2 separate regions of the Homo sapiens genome follow, and region 2 is linked to region 1. Evidence: promoter capture Hi-C in 16 types of primary human blood cells and fetal thymus (Javierre and others, 2016). All regions are on one chromosome and are shown on one strand. The core of a region is centred on a gene start or on the middle of the fragment in contact, and the rest is flanking DNA. Distances in the headings are between cores, read along the strand shown.

What was found. Contacts are between HindIII fragments. The CHiCAGO score rates a contact against its expected background, and 5 or more counts as called.
Region 2: a fragment that was not itself captured here is called in contact with the fragment with the promoter of CSNK1A1L in region 1 in 1 of 17 cell types (endothelial precursors); the score reaches 7.4 in endothelial precursors.

The regions. Positions count from the first base shown.
Region 1 is chr13:37,101,735-37,108,209 of GRCh38, reverse strand. CSNK1A1L (casein kinase 1 alpha 1 like) reads left to right here and starts at 2,546. Exons shown (of 1, transcript NM_145203.6): 1 at 2,546-4,951. The coding sequence starts at 2,954. The coding sequence ends at 3,967. The HindIII fragment of the contact is 4,821 bases long and covers 850-5,670 here.
Region 2 is chr13:37,566,480-37,572,954 of GRCh38, reverse strand. POSTN (periostin) reads left to right here. Exons shown (of 23, transcript NM_006475.3): 18 at 1,497-1,586; 19 at 2,286-2,375; 20 at 3,134-3,211; 21 at 3,572-3,655. Among named protein-coding and RNA genes, the nearest start is that of POSTN, 29 kb to the left of the region's middle. The HindIII fragment of the contact is 7,922 bases long and covers 1-6,475 here.

The DNA of each region.
Region 1 (6,475 bases), core at 1,297-3,796:
GCCACCCAGCGTTCAGGAGCCTCTGGCTGTTGATGTCTATGTAGGGGTTAAAAGTACTGGCTTTGGAGGCAGGCTATCCTGGATTTCCATTCTGAATCCATCATTACCTACCTATGCCACCTTTGGTGAGTCACTCATGCCTGCAAATAGGAGGCATTCAATAACTATTTGTTGAATGAATGAATAAATAAAGAATGCATCAACCCCACACACTGTCCACAAAACTTTATGAAATACAGTAGTTCAATTTACTTCCATTTTAAAAACTATTTGTTGCACATCTTTTATGGAAAAATTTTGGACAAAAGGGTAGGAGGGGATGCAAGAGTTTAAGCAAAGTGTTGTTTGGGTTTAAAAAGAGTATTTATATTTGGTTGAGGAGATTGGAAAAGGTTTCATGGAGCAAACAGCATTTAAGGAAGAGCCCTGAGATTATTAGGATTAGACCTGGGCGATGGGAAAGATAAAGCAGGCTGGAAGCATTTCAGGCTGAGGAAACAACACCATAAGCCAAGACCCAAAGATGAAAAAATGCAGGGAGTATGTGTTCGGGGAAAAATCCGCAGTCCCACCGGCTTGTGGTAAGAGAATTCATGGGAGACTGGATTGGAAGCTATTCAGGGTCATATCATCACTTCAGTTACTGATCCTCCCCATTCTGGAGATGCTCACAACTTCCCTGTAAGTGAAGGTTCACCCAACCACCATTATAAGTTACACTTGACCTTCTTTATAGACAGTGCCTTTATTTAACTGGTACAAAAAAGTATGGGACTTAGTAAACAATAAATAAACTATAATTAAACTATTCTAGTTCCAGAATTGAAAGGGGATTTTTTGATTCAAGCTTTTGTCCATGTATGGGTTATCTGTAACTTTTTTGAATAGTGACTTCTCTCACATAGAGATTATTTGAATTTCAAGGTTCGTGTTGAAGCCATTGACTGGAAGACTGAACGGGAAGGAAGCATAATGGGCAGTGGGTTAACAACATAAATTTTATTCTTGGTTATTAGAAAGGAAATTGTTCTCCAGGCAAATTTCAACAAAGTTGGATGAGTAAATGAAAGAAATGCCATTCTAGTTGGTACGGTATAAAAAGTAACTACCTTGGGTCAGAATTCAGTTTCAAATTGGCCTCTGACACTTGTCTGTAGTGTGGTCTTGGGCAATTCATCTAACCTCTCTATGCCTTGATTTCCACTTGTATAAAATGAGAAGTACAATCATAATAATAAAATATGCCAGCAGTATACTGTATTACTATCCACCTGAGGTAGGAGTATGTATTTTCACCCCACTGTCTTTGGACCTGGCCATGTGATGTGTTTTGCCCAGTGGAATGTAACATTTGCCACTCCTTTTATTATGAGAACAGCATGCTCCTAAGGAGGCTGCTCTTTCAGCCTGCATTCTAGAACAAAGAGGACACAGGAAGCAGAGATGCAGCTGATCTACAGCTTACATAAAACCTGAATGATAAATAAACTTTGTCATTGTAAGCCACTGAGATTTGCGAGTTGTTCCTGCTGCAAAGCCAAGTAATATACTGCGCTACCCACCTCACATATTTGTCTGAAGTGGACTTTAAAAATGTTTTAAAGCACTTTATAATGTTCTATGCCCGTCTATGTCTCAAACCAGCTCCTTCTCTCGCCATAGATTGATGCAGGTCAGAAAAGTTAACAGCACTAACTTATGTGAGACAGTAAAGTGAGAATACCTGCTTTCAAAGCTGCACCTCTCTCTCCTGCCTTTCTGCCATTGGCCCCCAAATTCGTTGCTACTGCCCCGTTAGGATTATACTCAGTTCCTATCCCATCTCCTCATAAAACAAAATAATCGCACGGGTTTTGTTATTTGTGATGTGAACTTTCATAAAAATATTGAAATGGTACCGCTTTTTCTGCTAGTGCTGGCCCCAGTTCTTCTGAGAAAATGCTCAGAACTGCCGGCTTCTGTTTCTTCTCCATATTTTGGTTAAATTTTACTTGAATCCTTCATTTAGTCAGTTTTGCCAGAACGTCTCTGTGGAATCCTATTTAAATTCAAAGCACTCTATGAAAAAATTTCAAAAGGATCGCTTTAAAAAAAAAAAAAAAGACATTTCAATTTAACTAGCAGTAAGTAACTCTTGTTGACTAAACTCATTAAAGAAGCAACCACTGAGATCACACAGAAAAACCTCAAGAGGTGGCACCCCGACTCGCATTAACCCAGGGAGACATGATGGCTAAGGAAGTAGATGGGACAATGACTGGGCCCGAAAACAAGAAAATCTTTGTTATAAAAGCCTCCCATTTCTGCACGATTAAGTTGAAAGAAGGTGAGCTTCGAGTTAAGCCTAGGCAGTTTTGAATTCCAGCTCGCCCACAATCTCTTGCAACCTTAGGCCGCTTACCTGAGACTCAGCCTTTCTTACCCAACAAATCAGGGAAAATAATAGCTACCTTACAAGACTAGCAAGTTTGTCTTAAATGGAGTGAGATGAGTGGAACACCTAACAGAGGTCTCAGACAATAACAGCTTCTCCAAAAATTCTCGATTTGTGGTTGGCTGAGGTGGAGGAACAAAATGGCGGCGCCGGCGGCGTGACCGGGCCCTCTGGCCCACAGCCGTTGGTAGCGGTGGCAGCAGTACTGCTGCCCCAACTCGCTGTGCCCCCTTTCTCAGCCCACGACATCGCCACGACAGCGAGGCAGCGACCGCCACCGAGAAAGAGGTGGTGGCCCAGCCTGGAACCTTGAGAAACCCTCGCAAACTGTGGCCTGGCGGAAATCCTGGTGTGCTGCAGGGATCAGGCTGACTCCACGCCCTGTAACACCGGGAAACGCCTCGGTGGCCATTTCCAGCAGCCCTCATCCTCAGCCTTGCGGGCCGGTGGGCCCCGGAGGCCTCCATCCTCCCCTAGAGGGGTCAGGGCTGAGCCCAGCCTCCATCTTTGCCTCTCAGGATGACAAACAACAGCGGCTCCAAAGCCGAACTCGTTGTGGGAGGGAAATACAAACTGGTGCGGAAGATCGGGTCTGGCTCCTTTGGAGACGTTTATCTGGGCATCACCACCACCAACGGCGAGGACGTAGCAGTGAAGCTGGAATCTCAGAAGGTCAAGCACCCCCAGTTGCTGTATGAGAGCAAACTCTACACGATTCTTCAAGGTGGGGTTGGCATCCCCCACATGCACTGGTATGGTCAGGAAAAAGACAACAATGTGCTAGTCATGGACCTTCTGGGACCCAGCCTCGAAGACCTCTTTAATTTCTGTTCAAGAAGGTTCACCATGAAAACTGTACTTATGTTAGCCGACCAGATGATCAGCAGAATTGAATACGTGCATACAAAGAATTTTCTACACCGAGACATTAAACCAGATAACTTCCTGATGGGTACTGGGCGTCACTGTAATAAGTTGTTCCTTATTGATTTTGGTTTGGCCAAAAAGTACAGAGACAACAGGACCAGGCAACACATACCGTACAGAGAAGATAAACACCTCATTGGCACTGTCCGATATGCCAGCATCAATGCACATCTTGGTATTGAGCAGAGCCGCCGAGATGACATGGAATCCTTAGGCTACGTTTTCATGTATTTTAATAGAACCAGCCTGCCGTGGCAAGGACTAAGGGCTATGACAAAAAAACAAAAATATGAAAAGATTAGTGAGAAGAAGATGTCCACCCCTGTTGAAGTTTTATGTAAGGGGTTTCCTGCAGAATTCGCCATGTACTTGAACTACTGTCGTGGGCTGCGCTTTGAGGAAGTCCCAGATTACATGTATCTGAGGCAGCTATTCCGCATTCTTTTCAGGACCCTGAACCACCAATATGACTACACATTTGATTGGACGATGTTAAAGCAGAAAGCAGCACAGCAGGCAGCCTCTTCCAGTGGGCAGGGTCAGCAGGCCCAAACCCAGACAGGCAAGCAAACTGAAAAAAACAAGAATAATGTGAAAGATAACTAAGCGTGAATGAGGAACAGAAGAAGCAGAGCAGATGATTCGAGCAGCATTTGTTTCTCCCCACATCTAGAAATTGTAGTTCATATGTACACCAGCTAGTGGCTGTGAACAACCATTTAGTTGGTGTAAAAAACTTTATTTCAATATAAACTGACTCTGGGGAGCGTTGGTGATGCTGTATCCCAAAGTGTAGCCTCTGTAATTGTGAATATTAACTGAGGTAGTGAAACGTGGTGTCTGGTTTTCTATTGCATTTATTCAAGTAGAAAAGTTAACTAAATGGTTGACACACACGAATTGGTGGAGACATTGTCCATATGCCAATTTTTTGTTAAAACCTTTTATTTTGAACTAGACTGCTTTGAGATATCATTTCAGAAGGACAGTATTCAGCCACAGCTGCAAAGGTTGTAAATGCTTATGATTGAGCATTTTTAGGGTTTCTCCATCCCTGGGGTTTGCAAATTGTTCACATAAAGAGCATTCTTAAAATGGTTGGCTTCTTGTCTGTAAGCCAGCTGATCTAGTAGTAACCAAAAATTCCAGTTTTGAGAATAGGAAAGATTCCGCCTGCTTACCTGTGAAGACATAAGAAAATCTTAGTAACTACCAGATTATCTTTAGAATTCCACATTAACTATATCATGTTCTCGGTATTTTAAAAACAACAACAACCATATTTGTCACAGAAATTTAGTTAACATCTTACAACTGAACATGTATGTACATGGCTTAGATAAATGTAATCACCGTAAACACCCATATGATCTGGGATTTTGTTCATATTTTGAAATGGGAGCTTTTATGTTTTACAAGTTCACTAAAATCTGAAAACTGTTTCTATAAGGAAATAATACTTTTTTAAACAACAACCAAAAAATGCCTTGCTGATTCACTAGGAAATAAAAATCTCCCCAATTTTTTGATAGTCAACTTCGAGCCATTTGTTACATGATATTCCCTTGCAAGTAAATTTTATTTCATTATATAACTTTTTTCAATGTTTTTATTCTAAAATAATCGTTTTGTATGAAGGGGAAATGTATTCTTTCATTTTTCTTTTTCTAATGACTTGTGGTAAAATATCTAGTACTGCACCTGCCAAAACTTGGTATTGTTACTTCTTCCACTGACTAATAGCTGGGCTGATTTCAAATAAGAATGCAAGCATTGAAGGGTTTGACTACAAAACATTGTTGTTTAAAATACTTGTGAAATGGCTATAAGCAGTTGACTTTTACCCTTGGAGAGCACACTGTGAGGTTCTGTGATCATTGACCCTCCCTAACCCCCGTCTGCTTCTCTGAATTATCTGTGTGTGCGTGCTCTTCCTCTCAATCTTTTTGCACGTTCTTTTCTTTTTCTCTGATGCAAGATAAAGGAAAACTCATTTTCCTTTTAATTCTTTAAATCGTGTAATTTATTCACTTATAGCATGTCAGGATAAATTAAAAGAACATTTGTCTGAAAATGCTGCCAGGAGCCTATTGTGTAAATGTAGGCATTTTGTAAAATAACCTTGAAATTGTAAATTGCCACGTTTGGTCAGATTGTGTCAGGTTTCATTTATTTTTTTCTCTTTTTCATTTGAAAACTACTTCAGCAATAATTAATTCCATGATTACCACATTCTGCCATTAAGGGATATATTAGTACTATAATGCTGAAGAAATCTTAACAAATCCAAATGTTGGGGGTAGGAAGCTTCTTTGTTTCTTTCTATCCACCCTTGTTAGTTAAGGTATTCGTTTCTTAGCTATTAAGCCCTTTCCAGAAATCAGTCTCATAAAGCTATTTTTGAGTATAGTTTATGTAAAAGAAAAATATTTAGCTTTGGTAGTAACTTTTCCAACCTGACCTCCCTCTAGCAAGATATTTTTCAGTGTTTTTATTCAGTATGCACTTATTCTGAAATATTTTTGCATTCTTGCCATTTGAAAAGGTTGTGGCATAGTTGGTCTATAATGAAGTTGCAGATTTAAAACTACTGTTAGCTTTGTAAAACAAAATATAGGTGTTTTTGTCCTAGTATATCATTATTCCATTTTTCTTCTAGATACCATTCATTGTCTTCACAGTTCACAAAAGAAGAATGTGAAATTCAGTGAATGCTGTTACTAGTCATGCCAAGAGATGAATCTCATTTCACAAAAATTAAATTATGTTTTTCCACTAAAAGGTGATATAAGTTGAAGACACGTCACTGTGATATTGGGAGACCTCACCACTTAAGGCTCCACAGTGGCTTACTCAGCTGAATTCTGAGTTACTGCTCTTTACTTTGTTCACCCATTGGAGAGTGCAGTTTTTTTAAATGTTGGGAGATGGCCATTCTAACTACTGTTCAATGTCTCTGTTTTGGGGAGGGTAAAACAAGAAAATAAAAAAAAAAAAAGAGTATACGTGTCCGGGCACAGTGGCTCATGCCTGTAATCCCAGCACTTTGGGAGGCTGAGGCGGATGGATCAACTGAAGTCAGGAGTTTGAGACAAGCCTGGGCAACATGGTGAA
Region 2 (6,475 bases), core at 2,557-5,056, 460 kb before region 1:
TAATAACTTGAGTTCAGAAATTACACTCCTGTGTAGCATAATGAAGGAAACAAATATTTATCTTAGTAGTAATTTACAATGGTCCAGCTTCCAGGATTGCTACTGGCATTTCCTTCTTACTATTTGAACAATTACAGATTTATTGATGACTTTTAAATTCTTACTAAATGAATTAAACTCCAGGACACAATTTTAAGGTGTCTCTTATAAAAGATACATAACAGCATTTTGGAATTAAGAATAAATCAGCTAAAATTCAATTCAACAAATAGTTATTGAGCAGCTATTCTGCTGGGTACTTTCTGAGGTGTTGGGAGTAAATAGGAAAACAATTTTGAGAAAATCTCTTCTTTTATAGAGCTTAACTATAAAGGATGTTTCCAAAATTTCAGTTTGGCTTTTCTAAAGAAATATTGATTTAGATATTTTATTAACGCATTTTTGGTTCTTAAATTCCTTAGGCGTCCTTTCTTTTGAAGTTACCGCACCTTAAAAACCTGGCTTTATGTTTTGTGCTCAATATCCCTTGGCCTTATATATCAAATATTATGGCATGAAATACTTATGGTTTCAAAAAACTTTACTTTTATTTTCATTATTTTGGATTGTTCTAGGCTGGTTTCGTTTTGGTAATCATGTACATTGACAATTTCTGAACAAGCAAAAAAAAATGCTCTCAAAGATAAGCAAGCAACAGTTGCATTCCACTATTGAAGGCTATTACAGTATGAGTTAAATGTACTGAACTTATTTTTCTTACTCCTCTGTGAAACAGTCTTAATTAACTAATGTAGTAAGCAGCTTTCTAACCTTCAAAATGATTTTCTGTGGTAGCAAAATCATTTTGCAAGTCAAATGCAACACTAGTTTATCTTTTGCATTTGAAGGACTGTTTAACTATTAACTGGTTAATTGTGTATCATTCCCATACAGAAGGTAAGTACTCAAATTATTTTCCTCATAAAACCTGACATTCAGCATCTTAAAGGTAGGTATACATTTGGTACTTTCTTATGTTCACTCCTATACCCACTAGATCAAAAATATAAGGTACTGAGTGATTTTAAAACTTAAATGAAAAATTTTAATAAGGAAAAAGTAATAGACAATATCAGTATGATAAAGTGGGATCTACACCAGTTATCAGAGAAACACAAATGTGTACATACTGCATGATCTGCAAAGTGTAGCCACATATAATATTTTGCATAATCATACTTTATAACTACGAATAAACAGATGGATTTATCCATCTGTTTAAAAGCTAAAGCAGATGAAAGTAATTTTAGTAGCACACAAACAGACTAAATCATTTGTTCTCATAACTCTTGTCTAATTTGAAGACAATGGGAAATATTTAAAAGTGATTTCATAGAGCCTGAAACCACTTTGACATTTGAGTTGAGTCACACCGAATGTTGAAATAAATGTCCTATTCCGGTAAATTTAAAGGACTGTTTTAACATGATAATTTGTCTCCTAAAATAATGTCCCAGGACCCACACTAACAAAAGTCAAAATTGAAGGTGAACCTGAATTCAGACTGATTAAAGAAGGTGAAACAATAACTGAAGTGATCCATGGAGGTGCGTTCCTTATGTTACCTGGGGCCGACTACCTTCGCTGTGATTATTTTGAAATAGTGTTGGTTTAGAAATATTGAACATCTGATATTTTCTCTTAGTTCTTATTTTATAAAAATTGTGGGAATTATTTCCTCAGCTATGAGTTCTTATTAGCTGGTCAGAAATAAAACATAGTTAGCTTTTAATGGATCTAGTTGGAATTAATTTATCTATTAAGTCACTGGGCCCAACAAAATGTCATGATTTTTGCATATACAAGTGAGGATTGTGGAATAAAATTGTAACATTAATGTCAGTATAAAAGGAAATATTAGAAACAGTAGGAAAAAATGACCATTGTATAAGTCTCTGTCTAATAAGCCACTCCACTACTAGGATTTATGATAGGGCTCCCATTCCAATGATATAGAACTCCCTGGATTCTCACTAAGTATTTATTCCACATCCAGAAAACAAGTATGACATGGAGAGTTAGGATGTCAAATGGCCCTCTCTCTCAACCAAGATTCAGGACATAGCTATTACCTTTTAGATCCCTATTGATATGATTTTTGGGGGATATGTTCTAAAAATGTTTATGATTGAATCTTAAATGGTAATATTTGTAGAAATATAGTTAATCATTACAATGTCTAGCTTATGGATGTATAGTCACAATATGAGGGTAAATCAAATGCATTTGTATTCCCCTGCTTTTAGAGCCAATTATTAAAAAATACACCAAAATCATTGATGGAGTGCCTGTGGAAATAACTGAAAAAGAGACACGAGAAGAACGAATCATTACAGGTAGCCATTAATTCCATACATGGATCTATGCCTAGATTATAAAGATCAAATTATAGTTAATCCCCAAATATAAGAATCATTAAAGAAACAAGTCATTTTCATAGTGATTACTAAAGTTACTTCATATTTTGGCAGATATAATATTATTCTAAATATGTAATCTATGTTTTACTCTGAATTGAAAATTTGTAGACAAATCTAAAAGCATTTGTTTTTATTACATGTATGCATACATACATGTAATATGATATACCATTGATATGATATTCCATTTTCACTTTACTGTTTGTTAATGAGTTAGAGGACCCTAGAAGAAAAGCCATTTCCTCATTTGAGCTTCCATTAATCTTAAGGTCTGTACATCTACCTGCCAAAATAGAAGCAAGTTTATACAAAGCAATTGATCAATATTTTCAGTAAACCTCATATCAGACTTCCAAACTAGCGTCCAGTTGGTCCAAATTAGCCTAAAATTCGCCGAAAATCCTTAATTCAGCTATTCTTTAAGTATTTGTTTAAACAATTAGTGAGCAAGTGTGGCTTGTGCCACCCATTTATGGAAATAAAGTTTTATCGGAACACAGTCTTTCCCATCCATTTATATAATACCTAAGGCTGCTTTCACACTGAAGTATCAGAGTTGAACAATGGCAACACAGACTACATGGCCCACAAGTGTAAAATACTTACTCTCTGTCACTTCGCAGAAGAAGTTTGCCTACTTCTGTTTTAGACCTTTTTCATTGTCCTTCTCATAGGTCCTGAAATAAAATACACTAGGATTTCTACTGGAGGTGGAGAAACAGAAGAAACTCTGAAGAAATTGTTACAAGAAGGTCAGCATTTCTAGGAAAATAAGAATGTGACTTTACCTAAGCTATCCATATACAAGTCTAAAATAACATTCTACATGTTTTCTACTCTATCTCAATCTATTGTTCATTTCCATACCAACAAGAAAAAAGCACAAGAATAAGGAATTAAGCATAAATGGCAGTCATATTTTTTATACAGTATTTTGTTCAACAACTTTATAAGAATATTAGTATGTCAGAAAACAGCACTAAAATTTGTGAAAGAATCGAGTGTTGGGCTGGAATTCATTATTGGGCAGATGCCATTATTTATGACATAAAGTCTGCTGTCTTTATTTTGTTATATAAACCAATTTCTGCTATAAACATGTATCCTCTCAGAGGTCACCAAGGTCACCAAATTCATTGAAGGTGGTGATGGTCATTTATTTGAAGATGAAGAAATTAAAAGACTGCTTCAGGGAGGTTAGTAAAAGGACAACAACTAACCCCCTTAACAGGTTCTAGTGACTGAGTTCAACTTTTTAAAGACTGAGCAAGCAGATTTTTTCTTTTAATTGGGTTAAAAAAAAAAAAGACAACATCCACTGTTGTCTTAATAGATGGATTGGTTCAATGGTAGTTAATAGTTATGAAGAAATGATTACTAGTTTAAACAGTCTTTAAAAAGTTCTATGGTATAAAGTTTGGGGAGCAATGAATATTTTTTTTGCTTTGATTCAGATAATTTTAAGGGCCTTTTAAGTATGCAAAAGGGAAATAATTGTTAAATTGCTAGCTGTTAAACAAGCCCAAATTTGATATACTTTTTATATTTAAAAAATTATATTCACTGCCCCCATAAGAGCAATCAAGGCATGTCTTTAAATTCTATACATAGATATAGCCAAAAATAGTGCATTTAGTAACATTCTTTTCCAAAACTATATTCTTGGGAATGAATATCTGTTTCTTCTAACAGTTTGAGTGATAATCTATACCTGTAGATATAAGTTATTTTGCATATAAAATTAATCTTAATCTTTTATGGAATGTTCTCTGTCTGTGGCATTAAATGAACCTTAAGAACAAAAAAAAAAGAATTCAAAATCTTACACAAACCCTACATAGTAATTATTCAAAGATGTTGTTTATATAGATACATAATTTGTATCATTGGCATTTGAATAAACAAATTTCTACTTCATTTTTTAACAAGGAAAGAATTAAGCTGAAAAATTATTTTTTGTGAAACATGTATTTATATTCTTTAGAAAAACCAAATAGGCACTTTGAAATATACTATTAATTGAGAAACATAACTGAAGTTTGATGTTTATCCAAAACACAGTCCAGATGGCTTTTCAGCTTATACTTTTTAAAACTGTATCACTATGTCCAAGAAAATGTAAATTATCTTGGGACTTTCTATATTTTTAGCAATTATTATTTCTATATTCTGTAGTTTAATAAACGTAAAATCTCTTAAATAGTATTTAGAAACTTGTCAGTGATAGTTTAAAAATTTTTAATTCAACCAATGATTGAATTTTCCCTCAATAGAAATATATATGTCTGAAAAATACAAGTTTCCTCCCAGAATTCTAAGAGTACATAGCACAACAGAGCCATAACGGAACCAAAGATTCCTGTAGGATCTAACAAAGAATTCACTATCTACCCCTAAATGCTCAACTGTCTGCTAGGAAAAAAATCTAAGGATTTGAGGGAAGAGACAAACACATTATGAAGATTAAATTGAATTCTTTTTTTTTTCTTTCAGTCCTTGCCATAGTAAGCAGCTTTGTAGAATGGTAGTGCTTTTTAGGGAATCAATAAATTAGTAGCTGCATCAGTTTATATTGCTTTAATTCATTTAGGATTAAATTTCAGGTAAGTATATTTTCTTCCCCTTTGATAAGCCCCTGTTATTGAGGCCACTATGAAAAATCCAGTTAAATACTAAAGAATTGCTTCAGCCAAGAAAACATATAACTGCTACAAGTTAAGTATATGACATTCAATTTTTAGTTAATGAACTCCTTTCTTAGCTCTTGCCTCTGATCATCCCAGAAGTTTATTCCTTTAGTTCCCAGTGTATGATCTCTCTACATATCTGTAAGGCATCGGTTTTCACAATGCCACGTCAACTATTATAGCATTGTGAAAAAACAAAAAAAATTAAAAGTTTTTATCAAATCATTTCTCCAAGGTTTTGCTTTTTGTAGGAAAAACACTATATGCGGTAGAATTACTAGTACCAGCATTAATTGGACATGCTTGTTTTCTTTTTTCCAGCTATCTAAAACCATCAGGTCATTACTGAGTCACAAGTATCCCCTTGTCTAGATCCTAAAAGGCATTGATAAAAGAAGCTAGTAAAGATTACACTATGTAAGACTTTTTTTTTTTCCAAGGTCTGGCCAATTAATACATATCTGAACCATGCTCTTCAACTCAATAAGTTCTACCTAAAACTGAATTTTCTATCTAAACAGTTCATATCGTATACATTGTGGTACATGTAGTACATTTTTTTTTTTTTTTTTTGAGACGGAGTCTCGCTCTGTCGCCCAGGCTGGAGTGCAGTGGCGGGATCTCGGCTCACTGCAAGCTCCGCCTCCCGGGTTCACGCCATTCTCCTGCCTCAGCCTCCCAAGTAGCTGGGACTACAGGCGCCCGCCACTACGCCCGGCTAATGTTTTGTATTTTTAGTAGAGACGGGGTTTCACCGTTTTAGCCGGGATGGTCTCGATCTCCTGACCTCGTGATCCGCCCGCCTCGGCCTCCCAAAGTGCTGGGATTACAGGCGTGAGCCACCGCGCCCGGCCATGTAGTACATTTTTTGTACTTTTGGTAATTTGAGTATATTTCTCAATCATTTAAGTCATGACTATTAACATGGCTAACTGGTACTTTGAGTACTGATGTTGTGATTTGTCACTGATACACTTCCAAGACCTTAACTGAAAAAATTTCTCATTAAATGCATAAAATTTTTGGGCTTACCTTAGAATTATGCATTCTGAAACGACTCAAGCAATTAAAGGAGAATAACAGACTATGTCGAAAGGAACAACAACAAAAAGTCATTTTTGAAGGTTTTCGCAAATCTGCCAACATAAGAGGTTAAGATTTGTAACCTCTATAGAGAATAGTAGATCGAGTTGTAGGTCTGCATTCAGTCTGAGCCCCAACTCAATCCCAAATTAGTTGACTCTTTTCTTGCTTGTTTCCTTCATCTGAAAGTGAGGATAGTAGTGATACCTACAGTCTAAATAAGTTAATATATGACAAGCTCTTAGA